Regions from separate parts of the Homo sapiens genome. Here regions 2, 3, 4, 5, 6 and 7 are each linked to region 1. Evidence: promoter capture Hi-C in 16 types of primary human blood cells and fetal thymus (Javierre and others, 2016). All regions are on one chromosome and are shown on one strand. Each heading gives the region's core, a stretch centred on a gene start or on the middle of the fragment in contact. The rest is flanking DNA. Distances are from core to core; before and after follow the strand shown.

What was found. Contacts are between HindIII fragments. The CHiCAGO score rates a contact against its expected background, and 5 or more counts as called.
Region 2: a contact is called between the fragment with the promoter of ESM1 here and the fragment with the promoter of SNX18 in region 1, in 4 of 17 cell types (endothelial precursors, erythroblasts, total CD4 T cells and 1 more). The highest score is 8.2, in endothelial precursors.
Region 3: a fragment that was not itself captured here is called in contact with the fragment with the promoter of SNX18 in region 1 in 1 of 17 cell types (naive B cells); the score reaches 5.7 in naive B cells.
Region 4: a contact is called between a fragment that was not itself captured here and the fragment with the promoter of SNX18 in region 1, in 1 of 17 cell types (total CD8 T cells). The highest score is 5.0, in total CD8 T cells.
Region 5: a fragment that was not itself captured here is called in contact with the fragment with the promoter of SNX18 in region 1 in 17 of 17 cell types (M1 macrophages, M2 macrophages, M0 macrophages and 14 more); the score reaches 27.6 in M1 macrophages.
Region 6: a contact is called between a fragment that was not itself captured here and the fragment with the promoter of SNX18 in region 1, in 17 of 17 cell types (monocytes, total B cells, M1 macrophages and 14 more). The highest score is 20.1, in monocytes.
Region 7: a fragment that was not itself captured here is called in contact with the fragment with the promoter of SNX18 in region 1 in 17 of 17 cell types (naive B cells, neutrophils, monocytes and 14 more); the score reaches 29.8 in naive B cells.

Annotation. Positions count from the first base shown.
Region 1 is chr5:54,516,326-54,519,084 of GRCh38, forward strand. SNX18 (sorting nexin 18) reads left to right here and starts at 1,434. Exons shown (of 2, transcript NM_001102575.2): 1 at 1,434-2,759. The coding sequence starts at 1,628. RefSeq lists silencers at 1,188-1,429, 1,310-1,869 and an enhancer at 2,342-2,759. The HindIII fragment of the contact is 5,643 bases long and covers 273-2,759 here.
Region 2 is chr5:54,984,193-54,986,951 of GRCh38, forward strand. ESM1 (endothelial cell specific molecule 1) reads right to left here and starts at 1,401. Exons shown (of 3, transcript NM_007036.5): 1 at 1,025-1,401. The coding sequence starts at 1,325. The HindIII fragment of the contact is 1,737 bases long and covers 81-1,817 here.
Region 3 is chr5:54,948,777-54,951,535 of GRCh38, forward strand. No RefSeq gene overlaps it. Among named protein-coding and RNA genes, the nearest start is that of ESM1, 35 kb to the right of the region's middle. The HindIII fragment of the contact is 1,685 bases long and covers 505-2,189 here.
Region 4 is chr5:54,915,569-54,918,327 of GRCh38, forward strand. No RefSeq gene overlaps it. Among named protein-coding and RNA genes, the nearest start is that of ESM1, 69 kb to the right of the region's middle. The HindIII fragment of the contact is 468 bases long and covers 1,094-1,561 here.
Region 5 is chr5:54,898,183-54,900,941 of GRCh38, forward strand. No RefSeq gene overlaps it. Among named protein-coding and RNA genes, the nearest start is that of ESM1, 86 kb to the right of the region's middle. RefSeq lists a silencer at 1,490-1,647. The HindIII fragment of the contact is 5,239 bases long and covers 1-2,759 here.
Region 6 is chr5:54,880,479-54,883,237 of GRCh38, forward strand. No RefSeq gene overlaps it. Among named protein-coding and RNA genes, the nearest start is that of ESM1, 100 kb to the right of the region's middle. The HindIII fragment of the contact is 9,105 bases long and covers 1-2,759 here.
Region 7 is chr5:54,859,651-54,862,409 of GRCh38, forward strand. It overlaps the pseudogene CSPG4BP. Among named protein-coding and RNA genes, the nearest start is that of LINC02998, 120 kb to the left of the region's middle. The HindIII fragment of the contact is 7,006 bases long and covers 1-2,759 here.

The DNA of each region.
Region 1 (2,759 bases), core at 184-2,683:
ATATGCTTACTGAATTGAATTAAGGTTTTGCATTAGGATAAACACTGTGGGAGTGATTCTGGTATAGTGGGTTTGTGTTTTTGTGCAAGATGCTTACAATACCACAGCCCTTAGAATAATTGTACACTCTTCTGGCCCGTTTCCCAGGTTTCCTTGAAAAGGGTCAGAGGACAGGCTGAAATTAATGACACATGAATGCAGAACCTCAATTAGAAGTGTCTTCAAAGGAATAATTAGGCTAGACTTAATAAGAGGGGATTAAGAGAAGAAAAAGCTTTGGGCAAATTATACACTGAAGGAAAGGAAGATAGGAAACAAGGCAACGATAGATTGGAGCTGATTATTTCAGGAAGTGATTTTTGTTCTATTTATCTTAAAAATAATATAAATATAGTGAGACATAGAGACAACAGATGGATGGATGGTCACTGACCTCTTACTAGGAGTGGCAATGTGAACATTGGGACGCTTCCTGGTGCATGTACCCTGCAATTGTTAGTTTAGTACCCCTATTCCCTTTGTGAAAGAGGCCAGGGATTTTGCTTCCCCCAAATAACAGTAACAGCAGCAAAAGCAGCAACAAACCCTTCAAATCTGCTTACCCTGCCAGATATTGTTTCACTTTCCTCATCTGTAAAATAGGGATTACTTTATGATGGAATCCCCACAACAACCCCCGGAGGTAGGTACGATATAAGTGCCTTGTTCCAGGTCATACAGCTAGGTAGTGTCAGAACACAGATTGAAATTCAGAAGCCTGGCTCCGAAGTTTGAGCTCTCATTCACCGCACTACATATATCTATGGGAGGATAGGCGACACATGCATGTAATAAATGTGTGAGCATTTATTGTACTGGAAACTCTCCAGCTCCTCCCTCTCTACATGATCCTTTGCTTCTAATTTTGTCAATCACAGCACCTTCCCTGGCCCTTACTTTGTTCTTGCCAATCTCCTCTCCTTGAGCAGAAGAGGGAAGGGAGCCTGCTCTGTAGGTGAACAGCTCCTCCGCAGAGGCATCCTGTTTTCTTAGTGCAATCACTAATTCGCATTGCAAAATGCTTTATTACATGACTGGGTTGCCATTCTAGGAGCATTCACTGAGCGCTCAGAGTGGGAACGTTTATCAGGCATGCAAATGCTAACTTACTTTCTAGAGAATGTTTAACTTAAAAGCCTAAAGAAATCTCAGATAATTCACTTCGGAGTAGAAACCTCCTTCAGCCGCGCTCACTACGGCGCCCGGCTTCGCGGCACCGGCCACTAGAGGGCAGTGGCCGCCGCAAAGCCGACGCGGGCGGTGGGCTCGGCGGCTCGGCCATCGCTTGCTCTCGCCTGGCAAGGGGCTCTCGGCCGTGGATTAGCGCAGCTGGAGACGTGGGAGGCCGCGGGCCCCGCCCCCGACCGGCGGCGGCTGCGGCGGCCCAGCGCGGCAGTCGGCGCTGCGAAGTGGAGGCGCTGCGAGCGGAGCCGCGCGGAGGGCGCGACCGGCTGGTCCGGGCAGCGTGGGTTTGCCGCCTTCGGGGCTCCAGTCCGCGCGCCAGGGCTCGAGCAGTACCGCGGGCCCCTCAGGTGGGCCTCGGCTCGGGACGCCGGGAGTCGGGACCGCCAGTCGGGGCGCCGGGACCATGGCGCTGCGCGCCCGGGCGCTGTACGACTTCAGGTCGGAGAACCCAGGAGAGATCTCGCTGCGAGAGCACGAGGTGCTGAGCCTGTGCAGCGAGCAGGACATCGAGGGCTGGCTCGAGGGGGTCAACAGCCGCGGCGACCGCGGCCTCTTCCCGGCCTCCTATGTGCAGGTGATCCGCGCCCCCGAGCCTGGCCCGGCGGGAGACGGCGGCCCGGGCGCCCCGGCCCGCTACGCCAATGTGCCCCCCGGGGGCTTCGAGCCCCTGCCTGTCGCGCCCCCCGCCTCCTTCAAGCCGCCGCCTGACGCCTTCCAGGCGCTGCTGCAGCCACAGCAGGCGCCGCCTCCGAGCACCTTCCAGCCGCCCGGCGCGGGCTTCCCGTACGGCGGGGGCGCCCTGCAGCCGTCGCCTCAGCAGCTCTACGGCGGCTACCAGGCCAGCCAAGGCAGCGATGATGACTGGGACGACGAGTGGGACGACAGCTCCACGGTGGCGGACGAGCCGGGCGCTCTGGGCAGCGGAGCATACCCGGACCTCGACGGCTCGTCTTCGGCGGGTGTGGGCGCAGCCGGCCGCTACCGCCTGTCCACGCGCTCCGACCTGTCCCTGGGTTCCCGCGGCGGCTCGGTCCCCCCGCAGCACCACCCGTCGGGGCCCAAGAGCTCGGCCACCGTGAGCCGCAACCTCAATCGCTTCTCCACCTTCGTCAAGTCCGGCGGGGAGGCCTTCGTGCTGGGGGAGGCGTCAGGCTTCGTGAAGGACGGGGACAAGCTGTGCGTGGTGCTGGGGCCCTATGGCCCCGAGTGGCAGGAGAACCCCTACCCGTTCCAGTGCACCATCGACGACCCCACCAAGCAGACCAAGTTCAAGGGCATGAAGAGCTACATCTCCTACAAGCTGGTGCCCACGCACACGCAGGTGCCGGTGCATCGGCGCTACAAGCACTTCGACTGGCTGTACGCGCGCCTGGCGGAGAAGTTCCCGGTCATCTCCGTGCCCCACCTGCCCGAGAAGCAGGCCACCGGCCGCTTCGAGGAGGACTTCATCTCTAAGCGCAGGAAGGGCCTGATCTGGTGGATGAACCACATGGCCAGCCACCCAGTGCTGGCGCAGTGCGACGTCTTCCAGCACT
Region 2 (2,759 bases), core at 151-2,650, 470 kb after region 1:
TATTATTCATAAAAAATGTATTAAATACATAAAACATAATAATTATTTAGAAATTTCTCAGTCCTTTTTATAATTTTGAAAGCTTCCTGGTATTACACAACTGATGGATGGGGTTATAGCATGTGTTGCTTCTTAATAATAGCTCTTCATAATAAGATCATGAGATATCTATACGTAGAGTATTTTTAAATCATCATTCTTTTTATTCTAAACATTTTTAAAATGTTAAATATTTTAAACTAGTTACTATGTTTAAAATAAATTCTACAAATGCTTAACTACATTATTTAGCTAAAATTTCAACCGACGAAGTTTTTCTTTAAGTGTACAAGTGGTCAACCTCATTCTTTACAGACTTCCAGTTTTTATTTTTCTCTATTGTTATTTTTCCTTGTCTTAACACCATCTGCTATTTTTCCAGATGACCAAAACCTTTATAAAGTCAGATGAGGTTTGTTTTATGCTTCAGGGGACCCTCTTTGAAGAGTGAGTTATTTTGTTAGATGACTTAAGCTCACTCTATTCCATAAAGTGCATTTGTGTTTATCAGAAATATTTGATCTTGAGAGTGGCCCTCCATCCTGTGGACCCTTTCAAGATCAAAGAATCACTAAATCTGGGGGCTAGAAACCATTCCAAGAGGTTATCTAGTGCAGACCTTTGTAATCGCTGCCTCGCAGAGGAGAGAGCACCTAAGCCATCCTTAACAGATTACCTGTCAAGTTTCTAAAGTTTTCCAGAAAAGGAGCCAACACAATCTTCCATTGCAGCTTTCTTTTTGCGATCTCCTAAGGCAACGAGTAAAATGCCACACTTCTTTCTGTGCCTTCCTGCACACTGGTTTCAGTTGCTACTTGGAGCTATCCTTCAGTCTCTACCCATGACAATACCTGTGTGGTGCCTTGTCAAGAATCCACCTGCCTTTTCCCTCTTACTCTTGAGGAGCAAAGCCACCTCACCTCCCAAGCTGGCTAAAAGCTCTCAGCATGCCCCGGGAGGGGAGAGGTAAGGGGTCACTCTTTACCTTTGCAGATACCAAACTCTTCACCAAAAGGATCCTCCCCATTAGAAGGCTGACACCTCAGCCCCGGGCCACACTTCATGCCATCCATGCCTGAGACTGTGCGGTAGCAAGTTTCTCCCCGCCCTGCAGCGCACACTCGGCAGCAGCCACAGTCGTCGAGCACTGTCCTCTTGCAGCGCGGGCTGCTTTTGCACTCACTGCTGTCACAGTGTTGAGGGCAGTCCACCGCATAATTATTGCTCCAGGCGGCCACCAGGTGTGCAGGCACGAGGAGCGTGGTCAGCAGCAAGACGCTCTTCATGTTTCCCAGCTGCCTCCGGCTCGGCTCTCCAGTCGTGGTCTTTGCTGGTGGGAAGCAGCCGTCCAAACTGGTAGCTGAGCCTCTGCCTACACGTTTATGAGTTTTATACACTGGGTTGCCCGCATGCTTTCCCGTCATCAATTTCCTCAACCCAGCAGCAGCGCTGTCCTCCTGCCAGGCTCTCTTGTTTTGGTTTATGAAATCCAGGATGAAGGCTGGATTAACACGCTGCTGCCATCCAGGAATTGAAAAGCCCAAGCTGATGTCATCTGTTATGTTTAGATGGTTGTTTTGCATGAGGACTGAAAAACTCACTCACATCCGTCTCAAGGGCTCAAGGACGTCTGTGAAGGAGGGATAAAGAAGGTTGCACACCCTCCTTCAGGACGGGAATTGTTCTGACCCTGGCATATCACTTGAGGTGTAGCTTTGTCTCAGAGCCTCTGTAGTCAGGAGGAAAATGATATCAACATGAATCATCAGGACCGAAGAAGCTTCTTCAAAAAAAATAATAAACATTTGGTATTTCCCCTCAACAAATAGCTATGAGATCATTTGAAAGAAGAAAGGGTTATATTGTGTCTTTTCAATACTTAGAAGAAAGAAAATATTTTGATAGGGCTATTTTTTAAGACCCTCTCTTCCTTCCTCTCACCCCTCTCCTCAAATGTTATTTCTAAAGCAATTCATGTTACATATATCTAAGCCTATTGTGGATATAGCTGTGCTTCCAGTACAATGTGGAACTGCCTCTGAGAATTTCTTTTAAAATCAATACAAAAAGCCACAAGAGAGGTAAGATCCTTTCGGCACTGCTTCTGGGTTACTCAATTCTGGAAAAACTTATCAGTTGGACTTCTGATCCAAAACTTCCTCAGGGGAAGGCTCATCCATCACTAAGTCTGCTTGTCCAATGACGGAGTCCACCCAGAGCCCTTCCCCTCACCTCCTGGCATCTATCAGAGCCCTCACTAAAAACTGCCAAGCGCGGCAGCCAGCCCAAGGCAACAAGTGGCTCAGCAGGAAAATCAGAACACAGCCCCCAAGAAACAAGTCACAGGGAAGGGAAACATTACCCCTCAGGAAACAAGGTCTGCATGCTAAGAGGGTTACCGTGCCTAGGTCCCTCTGGGAAAACAGAGTAGCCCTCTTAAAATATCAACTGTGCCAGGGTCTTATTAAGTAAGGTTAAAGAGGAGAGAGGGGAGTTCTTACACCAACCACATGCCGAATTCCATGCCCCCACCTCACTTGTCAAAAGAGATATAGACTCACTGTCACTTAGTAAATAACAACCCAGTAAAGTGGGTAATTCTTGGTCTGTCACAAATGAGCTGTAAGAAATTCACAGGACTTCTCTTGGCCTCAGCTTCCTCTTTTGAGAATTGATGGTGTTAGGCTACCTGACCTCTAAAATTCTTGTTTCCCATAGAA
Region 3 (2,759 bases), core at 97-2,596, 430 kb after region 1:
CTGGATGCAGCTTCTACTGGCTCAAGAAGGCCAAGGTATGTGTCTCTTCCCAGCCCTAAGTCCAGTGGCATACAGGTAGCTGTAATCATCCATGGTAGAATATTTATACCATAGAAATCATCATACAAAACTAGTTGGGGATTTTTCCCCCTGAGAACTGGTTGTTAGACATTTACCAGCACGCACTGAGTGTATATGCACATATGTACACCAGAGAATCTAGGTATGTGTGTGTGTGTGTGTGTGTGTGTATATATATTCATATTCATATATGTATATATACAGATATATGTTTTGATGGCTAAGTAGAGTGAGAACAGATGAAGACTATGAGACTTCATCATCAAGGAAACAATGTGAGCAGTGACAAGGAGAGTGCTGATGTCCAGTGTGTACTTTAGGAACACAGAATCATGTGTTGCAGCCAGGGTGAAAAGTGTGTGAGGAAGAGAGTAGGAGGTAGGTCTGGAAAGACTTCTAGGGGACTGAATGTAAAAGATTTTAAGCTTCACTAAGAATACTGCAAGTACTGGTGGTTCATTAGAGACTTTAGCAGCAGAAATAGCATAATCTGTTGTGCATTTTGTAAAAATGAAGAAGAAATGGAAAGGCTAGAGATGGGAAGCAGTAAAGCCAGTTGGGAAGTGATTTCCATTGTCTGTAACAGAAATGAGAGAATTGAACCATGGCAGTAGCAGCAGGGAAGAAGAAAGGTTGAAAGTTGAGAGTGATTTTAGACTTAGAATCAACAAGATTTGATAATTATTTGATGTGTTGAGGGAGAAAGAGAAGTAAGAAAAAAAGGGATGGAGAATGTGAGAGATGCCTGGCTTGGGAAGTGAGATCAAAAAATTAGATCAGAGCCTGGCACGGTGGCTCACACCTGTAATCCCAGCACTTGGGAGGCCGAGGTGAGTGGATCATTTGAGGTCAGGAGTTCGAGACCAGCCTGGCCAACATGGTGAAACTCTGCCTCTACTAAAAATTAGCCAGGGGTGGTGGCAGGTGCCTGTCGTCCCAGCTACTTGGGAGGCTGAGGCAGGAGAATCACTTGAACCCAGGAGGCGGAGGTTGCAGAGAGCCAAGATCATGCCACTGGACTCCAGCCTGGGTGACCGAGCAAGACTCCATCTCAAAAAAAAAAAAAATTCAGCTTGGATATAAATAATGACTGATATGGATTGCGGTATTTAAACATCCACCCTAGATCACACAATTGTGTAACTCTATTTTCAACACTATATCAGTTAAAAGCAACACCTAAAGTCCATGTACAGAAAGATCTCAAGTAGGAGTTATTCCTCAATTGACAACCTGAAGGGCCGGACAATTGAGTGTTTCCTGTGTGAGGGTTTTGTCAGATGAATGAAGCAAAAAGCCAGAGGTCCAAACAAATTTGAGAAATTGGCAAGAGCTGTTTTGTTTTGTTTTGATGTGATTTTCAAAATTGATGTACCATGAAATCCCAGATGAATAAGGAAGGAAGTGGAGATGTGAAGAGGCCAGTGGATTGGAAACTGAAGGTCCCGATATGGCTTAAGAGTATTCATGATGTGATTAATTGGGCAGATTGAAAGGAGGACAGACTGTAGTCAGACAGCAAATTATCTGAATTTGTGATTTGGAAGGTAACACAGTTATGAGCAATTTTGGTCCAAAGTAGACTGTGGATTTACTGGGTAAAAAGAAGAGAAGGCATTGTAGATAAGACGGTGGTGGCTGTGAGAGGTCCCAGTGTTGGATGGATTGTCCACAAGGTTATAAAGTGACCCAGGGTGACAATTTAACAGGATACCTGTGAGCCAAGAGTCCAAGTCATCAGCAATGGAGGGGAAGACAGCCGGAGGCTGGTAGGTGACCAGTAAGGAGGAAGAAATGGTAGCATAGTTGAATGACAGGAACCTTGAAGGCCCAGGGTTTTTGCTCCCATTTTGCAAGCAGAAGAAGAGTGTTTTCTGGCATCAGATTGCCAAGATCGGAGGTGCCTAGAACCCCTAAATTTCCCAGCCTGTAGAATTTTAAATCAATCTCCGAGATGTCTGCCCTTTCAAAATCACATCTTTGCTTTTTAGGACACTGCTTCTGGTTGTACTGGGTTCACTCAGACATAATATTAGCTCCTTTGCTGAGTTCCACCTAGTAAAACCTCACTCATCCTAGGGGCTTGAGAGCAAGGTAGACTTTGCTGAAGCTTTTGGGTTTGTTTGAAGGTGATGGAAAACACATTTGCAATGGAACAACACAAACAACTGCAAATTAAATCACAACCATCACTGTCTTTGAAATGTTCCCAGCTAACCCACCAGTGAGTGGTTTGAGCTTCATGACTGGTCACATTACCTGAACCCAGCCTTGCTACATCTTGCTGGTTCCTCTCTTCCTCTGCTGTCTCATCTTTCCCACCCTATTCAGTCTACGAAATGGAACATTATTTTAATTGCCTAGATAAACTTGCTAACATCTCCGTTTCTAAAATGCTTAGATCTTGGTGTATAACTGACCTAGGAAGTTCTAGCCTAGAGGTCATTATGTAAGTAGGAACTGTTCACATGAAGAACAGAATGCCGGAAGTAACAGGCTGTATAGACAGCTGGAGAAGCAGCACTGTATCACTAGGCTGAGATCAAATGACCTTCTCTCTTCCCAAGAGAGAGACAAATTCCCTTCCTTCTTCATGCAGAATTCTTCTTCTCTCTTTCGTAAAGCCTTGGTGTCAGTACCTCTAGGCTGTGGGGATCCACTATTTTTTGCTTCTTCCC
Region 4 (2,759 bases), core at 78-2,577, 400 kb after region 1:
ATATCCTGAAGCATTCTTGTAATGGCCGTCATCTGGCCCAGTGAGCCAAGGCTGTGTCTGACCTGCTGAACCAGGTCAAACAAACTGTAGGACTGTACAGAGTATATTTTCATTTTTATGCACAGATAAGGCTTTCCAAGCAAAGGAAACTAAAACCCGGTTTAGAGGACAAACCTTAGAAGTTAAAGGGTGTTAGATCTGAAGCCATCTGTTCCCATTAACAGGACAAATAAAATTTATATCTTCAGGAGCCAAATATTTACATTCCAGGGTAGGAACTTTCCCCTTTCTCTTCCTGTAAGAATTTATTTACATTCAAAAGACTATAAATGACTAGGGAGCACAGATTTTTCTCTTTCTCTAAGAAAGAGGGAGGGAAAAACAGCCATCATGCTCCTACAGAAACGGACAGATTCATAATTTGGGGGTTCCTCTTCTGTGGTGCAAAAAGCCTCTTTTGTACATGCATGGGGATTTTGATGGGGATTATATTGAATCTGTAAGTCAATTTGGGAAGTATTGTCATCTTAACTATATTAAGTATCGCAATCCATGAACATGAGATGTCTTTCTAATTATTTAGGTCTTTAATTTATTTCAGCAATGTTTTCTAGTTTTCAGTGTACGTAAGTCTTGCTCTTCCTTGGTTAAATTTATTTCTAAGTATTTTATTATTTTTGATATTATTGCAACTGGAGTTGTTTTCATAATTTCCTTCTTGAGTTGTACATTATTGGCTGTACAAAAATACACCCATTTTTGTACATCAATTTTAAATCCTGAAAACTTGCTGAATGAACTCAGTTATTGGCTCAGGTTTTTGGTGAATTCTTTAGAGCTTTTTTTAAATCTGTAAGACCATGTCATCTTCAAATAAAGATTGGTTTTATTTCTCTTAAATTGATTTTATTCCTTCTCTTCCAACCTGAATGCATCTTGTTTCTTTTCTTACCTAATCAGACTGGCTAGAATCTTTAGTATAATGCTGAACAGAAGTGGTGAGAGCAAATTGTGTTGGCTAGAACCTCTAGCATGATGCTAAACAGAAGTGGTAAGAGCAAACATCCTCCTCTTCTTCCTGATCATAGGGGAAAGCTTTAAGTCTTTCACTTTTAAGTGTATTAGCTGTGGGTTTTTCATAGGTGCCCTTCATCAAATTGAGCAAATTCTCTTCTTTCCCAGTTTGCTGAGTAATTTTTTTAAAATCATAAAATGGTGTTAAATTTTGTTGGAGTATTTTTTGGTATCTATTGAGATTATCATGGTTTTCTTTCAATTTTTTTCTATTAATATAGTGTATTACATTGATTGATTTTCATATGGTGAGCCAACCTTGTTTTCCTGGGATAAATTTCACTTGGTTGTGGTATATGATTCTTTTTATATATTGCTAGATTCAGCTTGCTAGTATGTTGTAGAGGATTTTTGCATCTCTATTAATTGGTAATATTGGCAGGTAGTCTCCTTTTTTGTGATGTCCTTATCTGATTTTGAAATCATGGTAATCTGACCTCATCAAATTAATTGGGAATAATTCCCTCCTCTTCCATTTTTTGGGAAAAGCTTGGGAAGGATTGGTGTTAATTCTTGTTTAAATATGTGGTGGAATTCACCAGTAAAGCCATCTGGTCCTGAACTTTAATTCGTGAGTTAAAAAAAATGAATAACACAATCTCTTTACTTGTTATAGGCCTATTTAGATTTTCTGTGTCTTCTTGAGTCAATGTTGGTAGTTTGTGTCTTTATAGGAATTTGTTCATTTTACCTAGGTTATCTAATTTGTTGGCATACACTTGTTATTAGTATTCTCTTATAATCCTTTGTATTTCAGTAATGTCCCCTAGTTTTGGTTTTTTACAGTAATAGTTTACATTATTGACTCAAGATTTTTCTTCTTTTAAATGTAGATATTTACAAGTATAAATTTCCTTCTGAGCATTATTTTTTTTGCTGATTCCATAAATTTGGGTGTTTTGTGTTTTTATTTGCATTCATCTCAAATAATTTTTGAATTGCTCTTTTGATTTCTTCTTTGACCAACTGGTAATGTAAAACTGCTCTTAATTTCCACACATGTATAAGTTTCCCAGAATATTTTATTTTATTGATTTCTAATTTCATTCTATTGTCATTGGAAAACAGACTTGGTATGATTTCAATTCTTTTTAAATTATTGAGATGATTTTATGTTGTAAAAGATGTTCTATTCTGGATAATTTTCCATGTGCACTTAAGAATAATGTGCCTTAGGTTGGACCCATCTGACAAAGGGCTAATATCCAGAATCTACAAAGAACTTAAACAAATTTATAAGAAAAATTCAAACAATCCCATCAAAAAATGGGCAAAGGATATGAACAGACACTTCTCAAAAGAAGACATTTATGCAGCCAACAGACACATCTCATCATCACTGGCCATCAGAGAAATGCAAATGAAAACCACAATGAGATACCACCTCAAACCAGTTAGAATGGCAATCATTAAAAAGTCAGGAAACAACAGGTGCTGGAGAGGATGTGGAGAAATAGGAATGCTTTTACACTGTTGGTGGGAGTGTAAACTAGTTCAACCATTGTGGAAGACAGTGTGGCGATTCCTCAAGGATCTAGAACTAGAAATACCATTTGACCCAGCCATCCCATTACTGGACATATACCCTAAGGATTATAAATCATGCTGCTATAAAGACACATGCACACGTATGTTTATTGTGGCACTATTCACAGTAGCAAAAACTTGGAACCAACCCAAATGTC
Region 5 (2,759 bases), core at 119-2,618, 380 kb after region 1:
TAGCAAGGTTCAACATTCAATGTCTCTGCTTTGAATGGTGCAAAGGTGATGCACATTCAGTGCACTCCTTAGCTCCCGATGGGGTTGCATCTGGATAAACCCATTGTAAATTGAAAATACCGTAAGTTGAAAACACACTGTTGACTAACAATATTTTCAACTTATGATAGGCTTATGAGGTTCCTGATGGGCTTCTAGGGACATAACCCCATTGTAAAATGAGGAGCATCTGCGTCCTCATGGCTTGTCCCATGCTGCTGTCTCTGCTTAAATGTACTCTAACTGGTGAGGACTCCCATAGTCACCATAGATAACAGCTCCTCCATTCTGCATAAGCTGCTTTTTCTCCACAACATTGATAACCATCTGGTATACATAGATCCTTATTTATAGTTTTCCTTCCCACTCTAATGTAAACTCTATGTGGCAGAGACTTGGTATGGTCACTGAGCAACCCCAATGCCTGCAGCAGTGCTTGGGCCATAATGGGTTTTCAATGACTATCTGTGGAATGAATGAATGAATGAATAAGTGGATACTAAGAGTATTCATGCAATGTCTGTTTTCATGAAATTTTGATAAGCCCTCATGATCAAATTGTGGAGATATTCTAAGAAAATAATTACATCTTGATTCTTTTGAGTAGGTGAATTGCCCCTTTTTTCCCCTCAGAAAAATCTGTTGGGCAGGTAAGCTACACTCAGTAGCTTAAGATGAGTCTCAATCCTGGGACTCAAGTGTTTTAACTCCAAATTCCATCCCATTTCCGTAGCCCAACATGTATCCTTTCCTTTAGCACAGAGAAAGAAGTCTTCTTTTGGAAAGCGTCATTTCCTTTCACTGTCTCCGCTTTCTCACCTCTTTTGGAGTTTAGTCTCTTTTTGACCAACCTCAACCCAGCCTCGTCATCCCTGCACCCGGCATCTTGTTACAGGCACTAGAGTTACTTATTCAGGGCAAACCTCCACTTGCCTCTAGATCCCATTCCCTTCTGCTTCTTCAAGGCGTCTCTCTCTCTCTTTTTCTTTCTCTCCTGCAATCTTCAATATCCCCCTCTCTATTTTTCCAGCTAAAAAGGATATTCTAATCCTAAAAATCCCTTTCCTGATATTATAGTCCCTTCACCATACCTAACTTCCCCCCAACTCTTCTGATCCAACTCTTTGAAGCACATGATGTCCCCTTCTCTTTGCACCCATTCAATCAGGGCAGTATAATTTCTGTTTCCTGCTGAGCTACTGAAGGTAGGATGAGATGAGAGCAGAAAGCGCCAATCACCACACCTGATGGTACTCTCTGTTCTCATCTCGCCCTACATTCAGTAGCATTCAAACTGACTGCTCTTTCCTTGAAATCCTTTCCTTTCTTGGCTTCCATAAAGCAACAGGCTCTGTGTTAACCTCCCACTTCAGTGACTGCACCTGCTTAGTCTCCTCTGCTAGCTCCATGTCCTCTAAGCCATCTCTGCACTCAGAGCTCAGCCCTACCTGCTCTCTTCTTCTCCATCTACAAATTTTTTCCCGCCCCATGGTTTGAAGTACTACATGGAAAGGACTCCCAAATTCATACTTCTGGTTCTGAGGGGCCCCCTGGGTTTCAGCCTTACTTGTGTATCCAAAGCCCTTGTTATGGACCAAATGTCTGGCCTTCTCCCCCACCTCCCTGCCCAAATTCAAATGCTGAAATCCTAACCCTCAATGTGATGGTATTAGGAGTGGGGGCCTTGAGAGGTAATTCGATCTTGAAAATGGAGCCCACATTAATGGGATTAGTTTCCTTATTGGGAGAGACCAGAGAGCTAGCTTCCTCTCTCTGTTCTCTACCATGTGAGGATACGATGAGAAGACAGCTGTCTACAAACCAAGGAGAATGCCCTCACCAGACACTGGATGTGCAGGCACCTTGATCTTGGACTTCCCAGCTTCTAGAACTATGAGAAATAAAATGTTTGTTATTTAAGCCACCCAGTCCATGGGGCCTTATGTTATGACAGCCTGAACTGAATAAGATAGGCCTGCTTGCCATTTTCCCCCAGTTGTCAAATAGTCATCTCAAAATTAATGTGACAAAAATGGAAGCCTTGACTTCTGCTCTGCAAGCCTGGTCCTCCTCTCATCCCCTTCATCTCTGTAATAGCACCACCATCTATCTCATGGTTCAAGTCCAAACCTTACGAATCAACACTCATTCATCTCTTTTCCTTATACCCAAAGTCCTGTTAGCCCTACATCTAAACATGACTCAAATCAATCTGCTTCTCTCCATCTCTGTTGCTGCTCTAATCCAAGTGACCATCGATGCTGTGTTATCTCCCCAGGGTCTGGACCAGCAGCTGACACAGCATGTACTCAATAAGTAGTTGATGAAGAAATGAAGAAATTAATATGAAATTTTTTTCTATTTGAAGTTGTCAGTTTACCATTTTCATAGGAGAGTAATGGAAAGCCAGCCAAACTATTTTACAGCAGAACTCAGAGACCTCAAGGAAAATTTAGAAGTCAGTAAAGTGTGTATCTTAATACCCCCAAATGCCAGTCCTGCTTTTGTTCCCATGGGGACCCTTCTATTCCTCTGCCATCTTCATAATTTCTCAGAGTAAAAACCTACCCTGAAGAAAGGGGCTGGAATTCCTCACACAGAAATATAAATCAATGATAGCCACTTCAACGAGTGTCCTCACAGAGCATTTGGGAGCAAGACTTTACAATGAAGGAAGAAAGTTAAAGCAAGTCAGTGGATTGACAGCAGCCAGTGGGGAT
Region 6 (2,759 bases), core at 171-2,670, 360 kb after region 1:
CATGGGAGTCAGTGCTGTAGCCAGACTCACTCCCCACAGGGACAGAACCTTCTCTAAAGCCCCCAGCCTAACATTGGTAGCTCTTCCAGCCCCTCATTCCTCTCTGATGGCACTGCCATCTCATGCCCCCATAAGATTATATGGCCATTGAATTATCTCTTTTACTAAGACAAAAACTCCCTGTATAAGTTTCCTGTTGCTACTATAACAAATTGCCACAAATTGAGTGGCTTACACTAACACAAATTTATTATCTTATAAGTTCTGGAGGTCAGAATCTGAAAGCGGTCCCATTGAGCTAAAATCGAGGTGTCTGAAGGGCTGCCTTCCTTCTAGAGGCTCTAGGGGAGAATCTATTTTCTTCATTTTCCAGCTGCTAGAGGCCACCTGCTTTCCTTGGCGTGTGGCCCCAGCCAGCAATCACACCTCTTCAACCTCAGCTTCCCATCTCCTCCTCCAACTCTCACTCTCCTATTTCCCTCTTATAAGACCCTTCTGATATTCAGGGCCCATTCAGATAACCCAGGATCCTCTCTTCATTTCAAAATCCTAAATATAATCATATCTACAAAGTCCCTTTTCCCATATAAAGCAATATATTCACACATTCAGAGATTAGGACATGAACATCTCTGGGGGCCTGGTTTTCTGCCTACCACACTCCCCAGGAGCATTCTATCCTTCAGTCACTTGTACTTAATGAGCATCTATTATTTGTAGGTTAATGGACTATGTGCTGGGAATACAGAGGTCAATAAGGCAGTAGCTAAGGGCCTCCGGAGCAAAGGCCGAGAGGGCTTTATGGTGATTTGTATGTCCTGTACAGCCCTATTTAAAAAGAAAAAAGTTAAAACCAGGAGATTTTAAAGAAAAACCTGGACTTTTTGGCTTCTCTAGAAAAGCCAGATGGTCAGGGCACCCTGGGACTCATTAGTTCCCACAACATAGCAACCATGTATGGGGTGTGGATGCTTCAACCACAGGGTACCCACCACTCTGCGTCACCTCCTGCCACACTAAGTGGCTGCTTGGCTCACTATGACTCACTGGCTCCTGAAAACATTAGGGTTTGGGCACCACAGCTTTGGAGAAGAAATGGTAACGTGGGATGCCAAGTTATTTACTTTGGAACCAAAAGAAAATGTTAGGACTTCTGGGGTTGTTGTATCTAAAAACCAGTAAGAACTGAAGATTTTTTTCATTTGAAATTTACAGACTGATTGACATCCTGTCTCAACTGGCATGAGACGGCCTCACCTGCTGAGTGTGAGTTTCATCTGCTCAGTACACAAGTCTCCTAAGGGATGGGTGGGGCTTCTACAATGTAGAAAGTGACTGTGATGCCCTCTCTCTCTCCCCACATTCAGTACACACCACCGGCAGGTTTGCCTGGATAACTGGGTCTACTAATTGCATTATCTCACTGTAACTAAACAAGTCCTGACAAATATGATCAGGAGCTTACAAAATTCCTCCAAACAAACCACAGGCTAAAGCTATATACAAATAATGTAAGGACCAGTAACGCAGAGGAACAAGCGATGCTGGTGATTCTCTTCCTGGACAAGTTCTCCACCAGCCTTGTTACAAGGTAAGGCAGTAATACGCTAAGGAGATCTGACAAGAAGGTAGTCAAACAATGAGAAATTATTGAACCATTGAACCATTGAACCATTGATTGAGTCTAGTGCTGAGTGGTCTAGTTTTGGTAGCACTAATAGATGATTTACAAATAAAGATATTTCTATCTAGACAGTATTTTGTCACTAGACAAAGGTGGTTTCCCACCGTGATGAAACTTGCCAAGCCCAGGACACGTCACCCTTTGTTCTTCAAGGACTGAGAGCAGAACCGACCTAAAGGCAATAGCCTGAATCACCCAAGGAGCTAAGGAAGAAACTTAAATTCATATAATGCATCTGGCTACTCAAGAAAATATTCTTCCAAGTATGCCAAAGTAGATTTGAATAAGACTTTGGTATTCAATATTTGTCATGCCATCGGCACCATGGATGAAGAACAGCATATATGCTAAAATATATGCTATGGAATTCTTTATTCAATAAATCTCCATTACCCACATTCTCTCCCCTAAATGGATTTCTAATCCACTGGCACTTACCCAAGGTAATTGCACAGATGGGGAGGAAAGGAGGGTAATGAGTAGGAAAGGATGGAAATGAGTATTTAATGAGTGGTTCTCAGGCTGCTAGGCAGTCTTACATAGTATTTTATTTAAGCCTCTCTGAAGAAGCTATCATCATCTCCATTTTACATAGATAAAAATCAAGACTCAGAGAAGTAACTTCCCCAAATTCTAAGAATATAGGACAGCACCCTGATTGAAGCCACATCCATCTGACTGCAATGCTTCCTATCACCCTACACTGACCACTTGGATCACTGGATCCTTGCCCATCACCACCCAATCTGTCCCCGCGTGGCACTCACTGCACTCTCAGATCTCCCTGGCCTGCAACTCACATCTTCCCCCTCAAAGCCACAGTCACAGTAGCCCTAGGCCTCCAGTTCCCTGTGCTATCCACTCTGGGAACCAGGCAGGAATGGGCGGGGAAGCGGTACAGGAAAATCCAGGACGGAAGGAGCAGAGCTGAGAACAGAGCCCGGCCTCCCCACTGCCACAAGGGGAAGGTGAGGCATCCTCTACTCCAGGGGTGGGTCATCGCTGGAAGGTGCTGCAAAGCTCCTATGAAATCAGCAAGAGTGTAGGCAGCAAGGACACTATTTGTCTACGCCTA
Region 7 (2,759 bases), core at 121-2,620, 340 kb after region 1:
TTGCAATACCTCACTTCTCAGTACCAAAATCTGCCTTAATGAGCTCAGGCCACCATAACAAAATACCACAGACCAAATGGCTTACAAATTCATTTAATTTTAAATAAAGGAGGTTAAAAACAGAAATTTATATTCTCACATTTCTGGAGGCTGGAAGTCTGAGACCAGAGTGCCAGCATGGTCAGCTTCTGGTGAGAGCTCTCTTCCTGGTATGTAAATGCCCACTTCCTCATGTCTTCACATGATGGAGACCAACAAATAGGTCAGTCAGTCTGTCTCTCTCTCTGTCTTTCGCTCCTCTCTTCTCGCTCTCTCTCTCTCTCTCTCTCTCCCCTGCCATCTCTCAACATAATTTCATGATACTTCCTAAAGATCCTATTTTCACATATAGTCACACTGGGATTTGGAGCTTCAACATATGAATTTTGGGGGTTATCATTCAGTCCAAAGTACTTAATATGATTCTTTTCCCTTTCCACATAGGCAATCACATAATCTGTAAATAATGACTCTTATTTTTCCACTTCAGTCATTAGTTATCTCTCTATATATACTTTTTCTTGCTTTACTGGACTGATTTCAACGTGCAGCACAACACCAACTAAAAGTAGTAATATCAGCATAATTGTCTGCAGTTCTGCTGAGATATGTGCTCCATTTTATTGGCTTGGCTGTAGGTTTTTATTTTTTTTTATTTTTTGAAGAGGCTATCTCCTAGAGGAAAGATTTCTTTTTATATCCAGTTTTTACATGATGAATGATTTCCCAATATTTCATAATTTGTGAGGCTGAATTCCTCTTGAATTTATTAAATGCTTCCTGTGCATCCTCAAAAAAAAAAAAAGATTAAGGAGGAACAAAGCGATTGAGCAATGTGGTGTAGCAGAGAGAATGCTGGACTGATCATCAGAAGATCTGAGGTAAAAGTGCTACCTTAACATGAAAGTGTGTTGTTAGTGACTAATTTTTGAGGCTGGTAATCGCTTTGTTTGACAATTCAAACTGTTAGATTTCAGCTCTGAAACTTCTATTCATCCATTGCTTGAGTTTCTCCTTTAGAGACATATGGACGAGAGCAACTATTAAGTTTGCCCAAATTTCTCTTTTCTAAACTAAGTATGCGTTGGTCCTTTAACTGTTCTTTGTATGTGAGGTTATATTTCCTACTGAGGTTATACTTCTATAATCCTGCTCCTTCTCCTTCAGAATACAATAGGTTTTTGTGCAACTAATAAAGGATGCTACCCGTAACTACCTAACATACATCCCCTGTGGACAGACTGTGATGAATTACACTGAAATCAACCACACAGATCTCCCTCTCTATAATAATCCAAATGCAAGCATTTACTTTTACTTTTGTCATATTTTATCCTTTTTTTTTTTTTTTTTGAGATGGGGTCTTACTCTGTCACCCAGGCTGGAGTGCAGTGGCATGATCTCAGCTCACTGCAACCTTCACCTCCCAGGCTCAAGCGATCCTCACACCTCAGCCTCCCAAGTAGTTGGGAAGACAGGCACCCACCACCATGCCCAGGGAATTTTTTTGTATTTTTGGTAGAGAGGAGGTTTCACCATGTTGCCCAGGCTGGTCAGATTTCATCCTTTTAATGTTTGCTCTGAAATCGTCCTCCAGAGAATTAGTTATTCCTCTTGGATTTGTCATAACCACAACTTTGATCAAAATGCCTTTCATGTCTTTAAAACTCTGATGGAAATATTGAAGAGCACAGAATCAAAATCAGAGACCAAGAGGATTATAAAACTAAAAGGGAACTTAGCTGCAGTGAGTCTGTGACCCAAACGTACAGCAGAGAACTCCCAAACCCCAAAAGGAGTAGCTGAACTTCTGAAAAAGTATCTGGGATTGTGTTTATTTTGATAAAATACAGCCAAAATTTTTAACAGTTCAAGTTCACGCATTCCTGTGGCATACTTCCTCTGAGTAAAGTCTTTTGATCTTTCAGAGGTGTTTCTGACAAGAGTTGAAAAGTTCATGAAGGGTCTCAAGAGAAAGTTGTGTCCACTCGTACAGAGGTGCTATGAGAATTTCTTTGGAGTTCTGTGGGCAGAAGAATTCCAGCTCATGGCCTGTGCATGTGCTCCTGGAACATGCTGTCTTAAGCTATTTGAAAACAAACATGGAAGATGGCTCTAAGCAGAATGTGGGAGAAGTTTTAATGCACTTTAGAAATGTAACCTTTAAATACCAGTCATGTTCAGAGTATTTCTCCCGGAAAAATACATCATTTCTTTAATGGAGTGGCACTTCCCAAAATGACATGCCATTTAATAATATTAATCTGAAGGCAAAGAGAGGGTATGTTGGGGATTTGTCTATCCCTAGACTTCTAAAACCAGAACAATACCTGCTGGCCTGAAATTAAAGGATACAACAAACTAATGGAAAATCTTGACAGATTCAAAAGTATTTGGTCCCCTGTCACCAACTCCGTTCAGGGACATCTTTGGCGCTCCTCTGCTCACACCTTCTCATCCCCCAGTGCTCCCCTCTCACTCCTTACTCCAGGTCAAAGGTGAAGCCTCGGGCCCTCCCACACCTGATCTGCTGACTCATCTGCTGTGCTCCCCACCACGCCTGCAGCACCAGCCACACTGGATGACTTGCTGCTCCTCGGACACACCAGGCATGCTCCCCACACAAAGCTGTTGCTCTTGCTCTTCCTTCTGCCTGAATGTTTTTCCAATATACACTTAGCTCACCTATCCATCACCTCCTCCGGGGTCTGCTCAAATGC